Regions from separate parts of the Homo sapiens genome. Here region 1 is linked to region 2. The links are contacts of gene promoters, found by promoter capture Hi-C in blood cells and fetal thymus (Javierre and others, 2016). All regions are on one chromosome and are shown on one strand. Each heading gives the region's core, a stretch centred on a gene start or on the middle of the fragment in contact. The rest is flanking DNA. Distances are from core to core; before and after follow the strand shown.

Evidence for each region. Contacts are between HindIII fragments. The CHiCAGO score rates a contact against its expected background, and 5 or more counts as called.
Region 1: a contact is called between a fragment that was not itself captured here and the fragment with the promoter of DLEU7-AS1 in region 2, in 1 of 17 cell types (monocytes). The highest score is 6.2, in monocytes.

The regions. Positions count from the first base shown.
Region 1 is chr13:50,319,155-50,326,000 of GRCh38, reverse strand. All of the region lies in intron 2 of DLEU1 (deleted in lymphocytic leukemia 1), which reads right to left. Among named protein-coding and RNA genes, the nearest start is that of DLEU2, 200 kb to the right of the region's middle. The HindIII fragment of the contact is 2,458 bases long and covers 751-3,208 here.
Region 2 is chr13:50,806,596-50,812,833 of GRCh38, reverse strand. It overlaps DLEU7-AS1 (DLEU7 antisense RNA 1), which reads right to left and starts at 4,979. Exons shown (of 5, transcript NR_046551.1): 1 at 4,848-4,979; 2 at 4,128-4,294. It also overlaps a transcript of DLEU7 not described here. The HindIII fragment of the contact is 1,259 bases long and covers 3,774-5,032 here.

The DNA of each region.
Region 1 (6,846 bases), core at 730-3,229, 480 kb after region 2:
TAAGTGGGGATTTTGGAAAGGGACATTTCATTTGCATCAACAGAATTTGGTATTTGTGGAAAAGGAAGAAAAATGACCTTAGGTTTTGGGTTTAAGCCGTTTGAAATGGGTAGTGGCAAACTTTACAAAGGGTAGGATTAAGCAGAAGAAAAATATTTAAGGAAGATAACCACTTTGGTTTGAGTTAGGTTGAGTTTAAGTAACTAGAGGACAATTCCAGGAAGATAATCAGTTGAAAATACAGGTCTGGACATCATGGGGCATTATGGATATGGATGGTGGTGAAGCCATGGTGTTGGATAAGATTACTAAGGAAAAGGAGGCAGACGAAAAAGAGAAAAAAAAGTCAAAAACCAGAAAACCCTCAGGAAGACTAGCATTTCATTCATTTGCCCAATAAGTATTTATTAGATAAAGTGATAAAAAGAGAGAAAAAAGATAGTAAACAAAACAAAGAAGGAAGAGAGAAGAGTAGTAAGAGAAAAAAGTGAAGGAAGAAAATGTGCCTCAGCCTCCTGAGTAGCTGGGATTACAGGCAGGCACCACCACGCCCAGCTAATTTTTGTATTTTTAGTAGAGATGGGATTTCATCATGTTGGCCAGGCTGGTCTTTTAACTCCTGACCTCAAGCAATCCTCCTGCCTCACCCTCCCAAAGTGCTGGGATTACAGGTGTGAGCCACTGCACCTGGCCCAGCCTCTGTTATTAAGTGGTGGGCACAACAAGACAAGCCTCTGCCCTCCTGAAGCTTATACCTTCGTGAGGGAGACAGATGTTAATCAAATAATCATTCTCACTAAATAGAATATGTCAATTATGGCAAATTCTAAGAATAAGACATAAATCAAGCCATGGGAGTCTACAGGGAAAAAACTGGCAGAATAACAACTTGTCAGGGAAGGTTTTCCTACAGAAATTATGCTTAAGTAAGACAGCAAAGATGAGTGGAACTTAAGTAAAGAGGGAAGAGCTTGTGCAAGGCCCTGTGATAGGAGAAACCCCAAGATGTGTTTCAGGGATTGAAAATCCAGTATGTGTAGAGCAGAGAGAGGAGGAATGAGTGAAAATAAGAATGGAGGCTGCGCATGGCGGCTCATGCCTGTACTCCCAGCACTTTGGGAGGCTGAAGCAGGCAGATCACTTGAGAGCAGGAGTTTGAGACCAGCTGGCCAACATGGCAAAACCCTGTCTCTACTAAAAATACAAAAATTAGCTGGGCGTGGTGGTGCACGCCTGTAATCCCAGCTACTCAGGAGGCTGAGGCACGAGAATCTCTTGAACCACGGAGGTGGAGGTCACAATGAGCCGAGATAGTGCCACTGCACTCTCTCTGGCCCGGGCAACAAAGTGAGACTCTGTCTAAAAAAAAAAAAGTAAGAATGGGGAGGCAGGCAGAAGCCAGACTATGTAGGGCTTTGGAGGCCAAATGGAATAATTTTTTCTCAATATATCCTAAGAGTACTAGTGACCACTGCAGGGTTTAGTGTGTGGGAGTGGGGAGGCTGGCGGGGAGATACTATCAGATTTGCAATCTGGAAAGATGGGTCCAGTTGAAAAGATGGAAAATAAGAGGAAGCAGAATATCTGAACAAAGTTCCTAGAGACACAGGAGATCAGCCAGAATGAGAATAGGGGGTGAGGATGTATTTGAGAAGGATGCGTCTTCTTGAGAGATAGAAAGGATAGAAGTAAAAAGATGTGAGACAATGGGCACATTTGGAAGTAGAAAGAGAAAGTGTAGTTGAAAAGTTAAAAATTTGATTTATCTGCTAAAAATGAAGAAAACATAGGTAGAAGGTGGGAGTACAGTTTCTGTTATGGAGAAGGCTTCCATCAATATTTATTGGATGTTAATGAATGTAAAGGTTTGGAATAGCTGCCGTGGCAATTGAGAAAGGGATCCCTCCAGGGAGCATAAGAATTGCCCAGCAATCCAACACCCACATTGCTCATTCTACTCAGTGTGGGTCATCAATGCCCATAGGGAAAAATGCATAGGCTCCAAAATATCATAAATTTGGAAATATTGTGGACACCTGCAATAGGAAAATCTGAATCATGGCATCATACTGCTTAAAATGCTCAAAATTAGGTGGAATGTCTTCAACGCACTTGATTACCACGTCACAAGGGGAACATTGGTCATCCTGTGATTAGTCATAGGTGGTTTGAATGCTTTGGAAATGATGTTTGCTGCTGGCATTTTCTAAAGAAGCATAAATTATAACTAAATTTCTCCTGTTTATATGCATTGCCATTTCTTCCCACAGCTTTCATCAACAAATAACAATCAGAGCACTATAGCTAACAAAGTAATAGCTGCATCGCATCTTGTTTCTGACACTGTCAAGCTCTACTTACTAGACAGCCAGATGTTGTCTATGATCTCTTCTTTCCCTTAAGTCATGCAGGGCATGAGGTGAGACATGGTGGCTACTGCCTTGGAAATCCAAAGCAGTCATCACAAAATACAAGGTAATTTTGATCATTGGGATGAGCAGGGAACAATATTTTTTTTCTATTCTAGCATCTTAGAGGTAGAAAGGCATTTTACTAGTGGTCTACTTAGTCGGGAAAAAATTATACACTGGGGTATAGGAAGAAAATACTATAACTTAATCTTCTCTTTATTTTTATTTTTAGAAGGCAAGGAATTAAGCTCATTTGTGACTAATTTATTATATGACTTGACACTGACATTTTGCTCAGCCTGAACATCAGATGCCACATGTGACATACTAAGGGCAGAGTGGGGGCTGCACAGCATTGGCAGTGCCATTCTTTCTTGTTGTGTCCAATAAGGTAGGTTATGAGCAACCTCAGAAGACTCAATTTTGCTAAGATGTCTATTTTCTCCAAACTGATCTATAAAGATTTGACACAATCTCAATCAAAATTCAATTTTTCAATAGTCAAAAGTAAATTTTTCCATAAAAATTGAGAATTTAATTCTAAAATTCATATGGAAATGCAAAAGACCTCGAATACTGAAGAAACTTTGAAAAAAGAACAACACTGGAGGGCTTACATGCCTTGATTTCAAGTCTTATTATAGAACTACAGTTATCAATACAGTGTGGCACTGGCATAAGGATAGACAAATAGATCAGTGGAGCAAAATAGAGGGTCCATAAATAGGTCCACACATATACAAACAATTGATTTTTGCTAGAAGTACAAAGGTAAGTCAGGGAAGTAATAATAAGCTTTTCTATAAATTGTGCTGGAAAAATTGTATATCCACATGCAAAAATATAAACATTGATCCATACTTTAAATTGTATATAAAAACTAATTCAAAATGAAATATAGACCTAAATGTAAAACCTAAAATTATAAAACTTCTGTTAGAGAATCTCTCTGATCCCAGGATAGGTAAAGATTTCTTAGATATAACACCAAATGAACAACCCATAAAAGAAAAAAATTGATAATTTGAAACTCAATAGACTTTTGAAGAGCAGAAGCTTTTAATTTTGACAAGAGAATAAGAAGACAAGCAAAAACTAGGAGAAAATATTTATAAACTACATATCTCACAAAGAACAAATTTTAAAACTCATTAAGAAGAAAACATAAAAACAATTAAAAAAATAAAACATTCAAATAGACACCTCACCAAAGGTAGACAATTGGAAATAAGCACATGTAAAGATGTTCAACATAATTAGTCTTTGGGGAAATGCAAATGAAAACCACAATAAAGCATGAAGTCAAATCTATTAGGATGGCTAAAATTTAGAAAACTGACCACACCCAGCGATGTTAAGGAAGTGAAGCAACTGGAACTCTCATACACTGTTGGTGTGAATGTAAAATGGCACAATCACTTTAGAAAACAGTTTGACAATTTCAAAAATGTTACACATGCGCCTGCCATATGTTCCAGCCATTCCACTCATAGGTTTTTACCTAAGAGGAAAATAAATATGTTCATATACAGGCTTGTACAGAAATATTCATAGCTGCGTTTTTTTTTTTGTAACAGCAAAAAACTGGAAACAGCCCAAATGCCCATAATTAAGTGAATGGATAAAGAAATTGTGATATAATCATACAATAGAATATTACTCCACAATAAAAAGGAGTGAATTATTGATATATTCAACAGCATTGATGAGTCTCAAAGTAAGTATTCTGACTGAAAGAAAAGAGATTTTTTTAAAGATTACATGCTGTATGTTTCACTTTATATAAAATCCTAGAAAATGCAAGTTAATGTGTAGTTACAGAAAAAAAGATCAATGGTTACCTAGGAAAGAGGAATTTCAAAAGGACCCAAGAAAACTTTTAGGAGTAGTGGGTTTATTAGCTTGATTGTGGTGGTAGTTTTAATAAGAATATACATATGTTAAAACATCAAATTGTACACTATATGTATGTGCAGTTTATTGTTTGTTGGTTATGTCTCAATAAAACTGTTAAAAGAAATTATGTCATGTTCAAGAAAAAAATATTTGTAGATTCAGTAAAAGACTATCAATACTACCTTACCTACTGTAGCACTTAGGTAAAAGATAATCTATTAACTTTTCAGGATTCCAGTTGTACATGTAAAATAAAGAAAAAACTCACTTCACTCAAGAATTATAAAAATTATTAGCTAGTATTGACTAGGTCAACTGAAAATGCCAAGTGTTGTGCAAACTGCTTTATTTTTAGCTATACAATATAGTGGTTATTTCAGATTCTTGAATCTGAGCATGTAACTGTTGGCTGAATTTATCCCTAAATCCTTCCATTTGGGCAAATGACTTGATTTGCAGTATCAATTCAGTATATGTGTAGTTCAAGATTCCCAAGAGGTTGTGCTGGTGTACTGGCAAAGATTGTATTTTGGATGTAAGTGATTTCCTTATATAATCTGTAAACTAGAAACTGACAAGTATGGTAGATTTCACAAATATAAACAATGTTACTATTGGACTTCATCTGTAATCAATTTATGAAATGCACCTGAGTAGATTTTCTAAAGAGTTTAGGTACTTCAATGTCAGAAGGAAAAGCCTTTTCTCCTTGAATCTTCACATTCACTAGCTAAATGGGCTAAACAAGAAGCACATCAAAAAAAGAAAAAAAACAGCACCCTGGAGTGACACAAGACTGAATTCTAATCCCAGTTCTGGTACTCACCTGCATGAGACCTTAGGCAAGTTACTTCACCACTTCTGTTTCTTTGTAAGAAGGGAGCAAGATGCTTGCCTTCTGTGCCTCTTAACACACATCATCCAGAAAGTTTGCAAAACCACCTCATCTTCAATATTTAGTTTTAAACCTTCACTGCAATGTTGTTCCAGCGTAACACTTCAGTAAAGGAAAGGAATTATACTAGGGTCTTGCACTATGGCTTGATCTGACCCTCTAGGGCTCATGTTAAAGATAAGTATATTGATTTTAGCCCATTTATAAAGTTACTAGGCCATCATTACCAACTCTTGCAAAATGAAAAATTTATTTAATTGACTAAGGTTTATGAGACTTTAAAAAATATGGCAGCACATTGATAAATGAGTTACCCAGTCACAGCCTGACTCATTCTACAAATATTTGCTAAGTACTTACTGTGTGACAGGGAGTCCATAGTAGACAAATCTCAGCTTACTATTTATTATGGACTGAATTATTTCCCCCCTCACAGACACACACAAATTCATATACTGAAGCTCAAATCCCCAATGTGACTATATTTGGAGATGGGACCTTTAAAGAGGTAAATAAGGTTAAAGAGATCAAAACAATGGGCCCTAATACATTGGGACTGGTGTCCTTACAAAAAGAAAAGATACCAGGGATACTCAGGCACAGAGAAAAAGGCCCTGTGAAGACACAACAAGAAGGCAGCCATCTGCAAGCCAAGGACAGAAGCCTCAGATGAAACCAAATCTGCAGACACCTTAATCTTAGACTTCGAGCCTCCAGAATTGTGAGAAAATACATTTTGTGGTTTAAGCCACACAGTCTGTGGTATGTTGTTATGGTAGGCCTCACAGACTAAGACACCATTTTTAATTAAGAAACTGACATGCCTGGTTTGAGAAGATTTTTGAGTCAGAAGTCAAGAGAAAATTTATACAATTTGAAAGCTGAAAATGTAGAGAAAATGTGTTTTCAGAAATGCCCTGAGAATGAATATCTTTCTACAGCCATTTCTTGGGTCTTGGCCAGCTTTTCTCTATGTGTCTTTAAGGAAGAGTATTTGCACACAAGAGTGAAGTTATCACACCAGGCAATCTGTCAGCATAGGAAAGTTTACACAATAGAAACGGTGACTCTGCAGCACCCCTGGCCAGCAGTCTCCAAGGGCCTCATGCTTGAACCTGACCATCCCCCTTTGACTTTTCCTCCCTGCCCCAAAAGTTCTCACTTTTGCTCTCCCTCTTTCTCTCTTACGGAAGAAAACCAGTCCGGACTGTGCATCCGCTCAAAGATGAAAAGTTGGTCCTGAAAACTTGTCTTGTAGTAACTGCCCTTGAATACCTATAGTTATATAGGTGTGCTGTCTATTGGGTGTGTTTGTAACAGCTTTGGGGTTCTCAAAATAACCTCTCTGTGTCCTCTACAACAGTGATCCCCAACATTTTTGATACCAGGGACTGGTTTCATGGAGGACAACTTTTCCACAGACACAGAGTGGAGGGGGATGGTTCAGGATGATACAAGCGCATTACACTTACTGTGCAATTTATTTATATTATTATTAGATTGTAATATATAATGAAGTATACAACTCTTTATCATGTAGAATCAATGGGAGCCCTGAGCTTGTTTTCCTGCAACTAAACAGTCCCACCTGGGGGTGATAGGAGACAGTGACAGATCATTATGCACTAGATTCTCATAAAGAGC
Region 2 (6,238 bases), core at 3,730-6,229:
TTACTTTAAATATTTATTTACCTATGGCTTTACTGAGAAGACTTATACATATACATACATATGTATAACTGGATTTATACGTATATAGCTATATGTAACTATTTATACATATATAGCTATATGTAACTATTCACATATATCAACAAGTAACACCCTGAATCCTAATTGTGATTGATGTAAAGCTGTTTGTTTTTATAGACTGAAGTTTATGCCCCTCTGCAGACATAACTGTGGTAGGGGCTGTGCTACACCTCAGATGCATGGAGACAGGACCTTTATAACTGCTTTTCTTGGGCTTAGTTTTGAGTAAACTGTTGATCTTGTCATGGCCTTTCTTGCCTTTACCCTACATACAGACTAAAACTCCCCTTTGAAAATGTTAACCACATGTGCACACCCAAGTGGGATTTCTGTAGCACTAGCCCTGAGTCAGCAGATGTGAGGGCTGGAAGAATGTCAGTCAAACCCGAAATGCATCTTCGCCGGAGGTCTCAAGAGGAGTTTCTCAGAGCAGTTGGGATCAGCAGTGTCCACGGGGGCCCCTCAGGTCTGAGATCCAGTGTCCACTCCTGCAGCCCCTTCTACACACCATCAAGCTGCTTCTATATTTATGCATTTATATTGATTTTCAAATCGCATTTCTATTGAAAATAGGTTCTGCTACTGAAAAAAATACCGTAAATCAGTGAATAAAATAAAACAAAACACCCCACTGATATTCACCAACTTTCTTCATCTTACAGATTTTTTTTTTTTTTTTTTTTGAGATGGAATCTCGCTCTGTCACCCAGGCTGGAGTGCAATGGTATGATCTTGGCTCACTGCAGCTGCTGCCTCCTGGGTTCAAGTGATTCTCCTACCTCAGCCTCTGGAGTAGCTGGGATTATAGGAGTCTGCCACCATGCCCAGCTGATTTTTTGTATTTTTAGTAGAGATGGGGTTTCGCCATGTTGGCCAGGCTGGTCTCTAACTCCTGACCTCAAGTGATCCGCCTGCCTTGGCCTCCCGAAGTGATGTGATTACAGGCATGAGCCACCATGCCCAGACATCTTACAGGCATTTAAATATGAAGACAAGTCCAGTTCTTCTAACTCCTGATCCAGGCTTCCCTCTGTAAGGCCCTAAAGCTAAAACACATCAGGTTGTTGGGGCAGCTAGGCTTTCCTACTTAGCATCCGCAGGCCATGTGGCTAGTGCTGGAAGGCTGGCAATGGCTAGGAAGGGAGCCTCAATGCTAAACCCATTTGATGGGTCCATTTTCTTCCTGGACTGAGCCACAGAAGTTCTGCCAGGAACGTTTCACAGGTGAGCAGACTTCCCTCTCAGAAATGCCCATCATCACAATCCTTTCTGGGACAGGAGGTTTTAGCCAATTTTACGCATGTCTATTTAATAGATAGGAGTGCTATATAGAGGAGAAAGCTCTCAGTAAAGCCATGGATTGCTGGAGGCCTGAGGACTCCTTGTAAGAAGTCTGGCATATATGAGCACTCCTTCTTCTTGGTGTTCTTCCTCTCACCTCTCTGGTTACTTCTCTTTCTAAAGGCCTTCCCTCGGTTCTTAACTTTCAGTTTCTGCCTAAACTGTTCTAATTTGCACTTCCCTTTTCTGGTTAGATGTTTTCTAAAAAGGACCAAAAGTGACCTTTATAGTTTGCCAATTTAAGTCAGAGCAATAAGTTGCAGTTTTCTGGGGCCCTGACAAGCAAAAGTAGGGCTCTCCCTGGTAGGTGCTTCCAGCTGCCACGCATGCACACACATGCAAACAGATGCAGGCACACACATGCATACCCATACAAGCACACACATACACACTTTCCTGCATGGAACCCCTAGGAAGTCTGTGTATGTTCACTGGTACCACAGGTTATCCTGAAAATGTTCAGAACACTTTCTATCTCTGTAACACTACTTTTAAAAATGAATTTCTGGGGTCAAGATCATTAAAAGGAAAACATCATTAAGCTCTTTGAAATTCCACTGGGCTTTAAAGATTTAAGAATCCAGGGATGTATAATATAAATTTTGCCAAACTTTAAAATAAACTAAAAAATTCACAACAGTTGAATTCCTCCCAAGGCCCCTTTAACAACACTTATAGATTGCTGAGATACGGGTATGATGAACAGCTATGGGTATGACAGCTCTGCATGAACCACACACAACAAAACACCTCTGTGTTCTACAGCCCTTGGCACAAGACATTCCCGGTGGCCTTTCCCCTAATGCGGTGATTTCCAAATGCCCGTCTGTGGACCAGGGCCACTTACTGATATAGTCTTCAACTTTCAATAGCTAAATGAGAAGGATTGGGCTTTATCCTTTATTTTGAGGCTTTTATCCTTGCTTTTCTTGCCTTTCCCTTTTGGTATTAAAACATTCATATCTTATAGAAAGCAAAGGTAATAATAGATGGTAGAAACATATTGTTTTGTTTAGATGACCTTTCTTTGTAAAATTAAAAGATGGAAACTCTGTATTGGGTTTAAAACCAATTTTAACTCTCCATGAAATTTAAAGTCTGGAAAACATTTCTGTAAGGCTGGGCCAAATCCCAAACCTGGGGGAAAAATAGCTTCAGGAGTGAATGCCTACAACCACTGAAATTCTTAAGAGAATTTAGCTTTTTAGCTTTTTTTTTTTTTTTTTCCAGAATTTCTTTTCCGGAAAGTATAGAGAATGAGGATGGTAGAGGACTCATCACTATAGTTTCCTCTCTTTCCCCAACATCCACAGACGTATCAATGGTCTGAATGTAATGTCCTCTTAAAATATGAAGCAGAAAATGGGTTAGGTTAAAAAAAAAAAAGTGCTACCCCAAGCATCATGAGAAAGCTGCTTCTGTTGTTGATCTGTTCTTGTCCCTGCTGGCTCAAAGGATCATGTGTGACACTGTGTCACAAACAGAGTCCCTAACGTGTTTACTTTTCCCTGACAAATACTATAAATTTTCTTCTTGTGGTGAATGAACATTGTTTATGCAGCTGTGTTCCTTAAATCAATACTGACTTTCTGTCCCACTGTATCTTTTTTGCAAAGACACTTAAGGAGAACTTTCTCCTGGCATTTGGGGAGAACTTTTCAAGTCAGACCTCCTAATTAGGAACAATCATTGTGCACTGGATCCACCAAAAAGAAAAAAGTGTTTTTGGCCTGGTTAAGTGTTTCCATCTTGGGTTACAGCCTTCATCTAAAGCAGCTTCTCCCTTGGCCTGAATGGGCTTTTCCGTGGAGACAGAAGGTAAGATTGCATGCTGGCTGACCCAACAGAGATCCAGAACAAACTCTCAGGAAATCTCAACCCCTCAGGCAGTTGAATTCTCACTCCTCTGAGACCAGCTGAGGTTATTTTACTTCATTTAACTAGCCAGATGATAGGTTGACTGATGGGGCCATTATGTCCGGCGTCAAGTAATTTTAGAATGAAAATTATGCAATAGGTTAGACCACAGCTCAATTTTTATCACCCCAATTGCATACAACGTCCCTAATGTGATTGCCTTTGGGCTAAGATGGAAAGAAATGTTCAGTCCCAAAGTGGCTATATTTTCTGGAATAGATTGAGTGAAACGTCTCTTTTTTTCAACCAAAACACATGGAAATAAATTTCTTCGGTTTTACTTTCTAAATATCTGGTACAAGGTAAAAACTGCAGTGATTAATATGTCCTATGGGGCTGCCGGTTGGTGAGGAAAGGTTGTCAAACTTTAGATAACTCCACCAAGTTGCTATTATCATTTTTAGGCCTGGGTCAGTCAAGTAGGTAGACAAGCTTCTTGACATGTGGAATTGACTGGGACACTGGTAATTGATCCTATTTAAGAAAATGTCCTCAACGCAATGATTTTGCTTAAGTACCTTCTTATTTTAAATGTACCCCAGGACACCATAGTTGTTTCTCTCTGTGGCTTTTTAATTTCCCTTTTTGTTCCAACTGACCTTTCTAAGTTTTTTTTTTTCCTTCTGAAATAAAGAATTCTAAACTCATGATTTTACAGAAAAGCTCAGTTTGCAAGAATATCAGCAATTTCTTATTTAAATATCTTCTACTATACCCAATTGCTAGAGCATAACTCTTGGCTCCTAAACCCAATTTATAAATCAGTCATCCTTTCCACCCCTACTCACCCCAAATTTGTTCTTCTTCCTGGTGTTGCTGTCTTATTTCTTGGCACCCTCATCTACTCAACAGCAGCAGAAGAAAAGAAGAAACTTCATAGTTGGAGGATCTTCCTTCTATCTATTTATTCATCCATTCACTCAACACATATCTGTGTCAGATACTGCTCCAGGTACTAGAGACAAGCATGTACAGGACAGATATGGAACTCTGTTCTCACAGTGATTATACAGCGATTATATTCAAGTACATTTCTTCTAGAAACACTTGGTACTTCTTGCAGGGACCCCCAACCTCATATAAGTATATATACTTAAATATGTCTAACAGATCTTGATATATTACATATTTAAGTAAATAATGATAGAAAATGAATATTCTTACATGGATGCCCCAATTTCTTTCAGCTGCCTCAGATACTCACTGGATAGTGATAGCCAATGATATGCCAGACTTGATATTGATTGATAATGTTATGGCCCCACCAGGGAAGGTTAGAAGAATGGAAGCTGCTTATTTCAAATTTGAATGAGCAATCAAACATTCCTGTTCTGATTAATGTTTTTTTGCCTTGATGCACATATAAGAACTGGGACTAGCAGAAAGGGTTTAGCTTAGGACTGTGGAGAAATGCTTTTCTTCATTTCTGATAAAGCTCCATTTGCTGTTTGATCCTGTCTTCTTGATCTCCCAAGTTCCTGATAAGTCTACAAAGCTAAAACACTCACAGTTTGATCATTAGTAGTGTAGATCTTCCTCTCATTCAATGGAAGTCTTCTCTTGGAGGTCAGCAGTAAATGTCTCATTGCCGTGACCCACTGGTCAGTCCTTATGCCTCTTCATCTTTGCACATGCTGATCCCTTTCTCAGAAAGAAAGTCCCTTTAGCCAGGCATCATCTCCTTTGAGAAGCTTTCGCTGACCTCAGACTGGAGAACTCTATTATAGCATTTGACACTCCCCACAAAGGGGAGAACAGTAAGTTGCAGTCTGATGAAGTCATATGATGCCCGGGCTGGCTTATGAGTAAAGAGGTGAGAAGGTCTCCTACTGAAACAGATTTTCCCTCTTTCTTCCCCTTACAATAGCCTTTCAAAGTTCTTGAAATGTCCATTAAGGAATTCCTATACTTTACTTTTGATTTCACAATTTCTCAGTCAAAAGCTCAATATCATTGCATAGGATAATACATTACCTTAAAAAAAAAAACACCAAAAAAACCTCAACACTCAAAGATTAAATTTGTGTTTGGAAAAGGCTTTATAGGCAGTGGTACCTGGAAACTGGTGCTTGAGAGAAGCAGGAGGAGGGAGGGGAGATGTCAAATACCATCTTTTAAAAAATTTGTTTGTTTTTGATGACCATCTTTAAGAGATTTTTAAATGCCATGTATGAATTCAAGAAAGAGAATAAAGCAGGATTCTAAGAAATAATAGAAAGCTTCTTAAGGAAGCCGGTATAGTATCATTTTATATCTCTGATATTTCTGCTCATCTACTAAAGCTCATTAAAACCTATTAATGATTAGGAAATACTTATGTTTTATGAAATGTATAAAAAAATTTAAAGATAACAATCTAAACTCTCTTTAAAAATTAATTTTTATATATATCTTAACACCATTTAACACACTTAATTTTAGTACTTCTTTACTAAAGTTTGCGGAGGCAGACTACTCTTAAAAGTAGGAAAAAAAAAGGCAGAGGAGCAGACCGACTTTTTTTTTTTTTTTTTTTTTTGAGAGGGAGTCTAGCTCTGTCACCCAGGCTAGAGTGCAGTGAGTCTAGCTCTGTCACCCAGGCTGGAGTGCAATGGTGCGATCTCTGCTCATTGCAACCTCCACTTCCCAGGCTCAAGCAATTCTCCTGCCTCAGCCTCCCGAGTAGCTGGGATTACAGACTTCTGAAATTCTGAATAGTATAAATACAACTGGAATTACACTTTATTTTTAAATATACATTTCTAGGTAAAAACATAATTAAAGATCAAATAATTTTGGTTAAATTTTAAAATAAGCCCAATATGTAACTAAATAAGTCTTAGCAGAAAAATGTGAGGATAAAGTTGAGATTGCTCCTATTTTTTAATATTTATAGCATTTATTTATTTGTAATTACTTG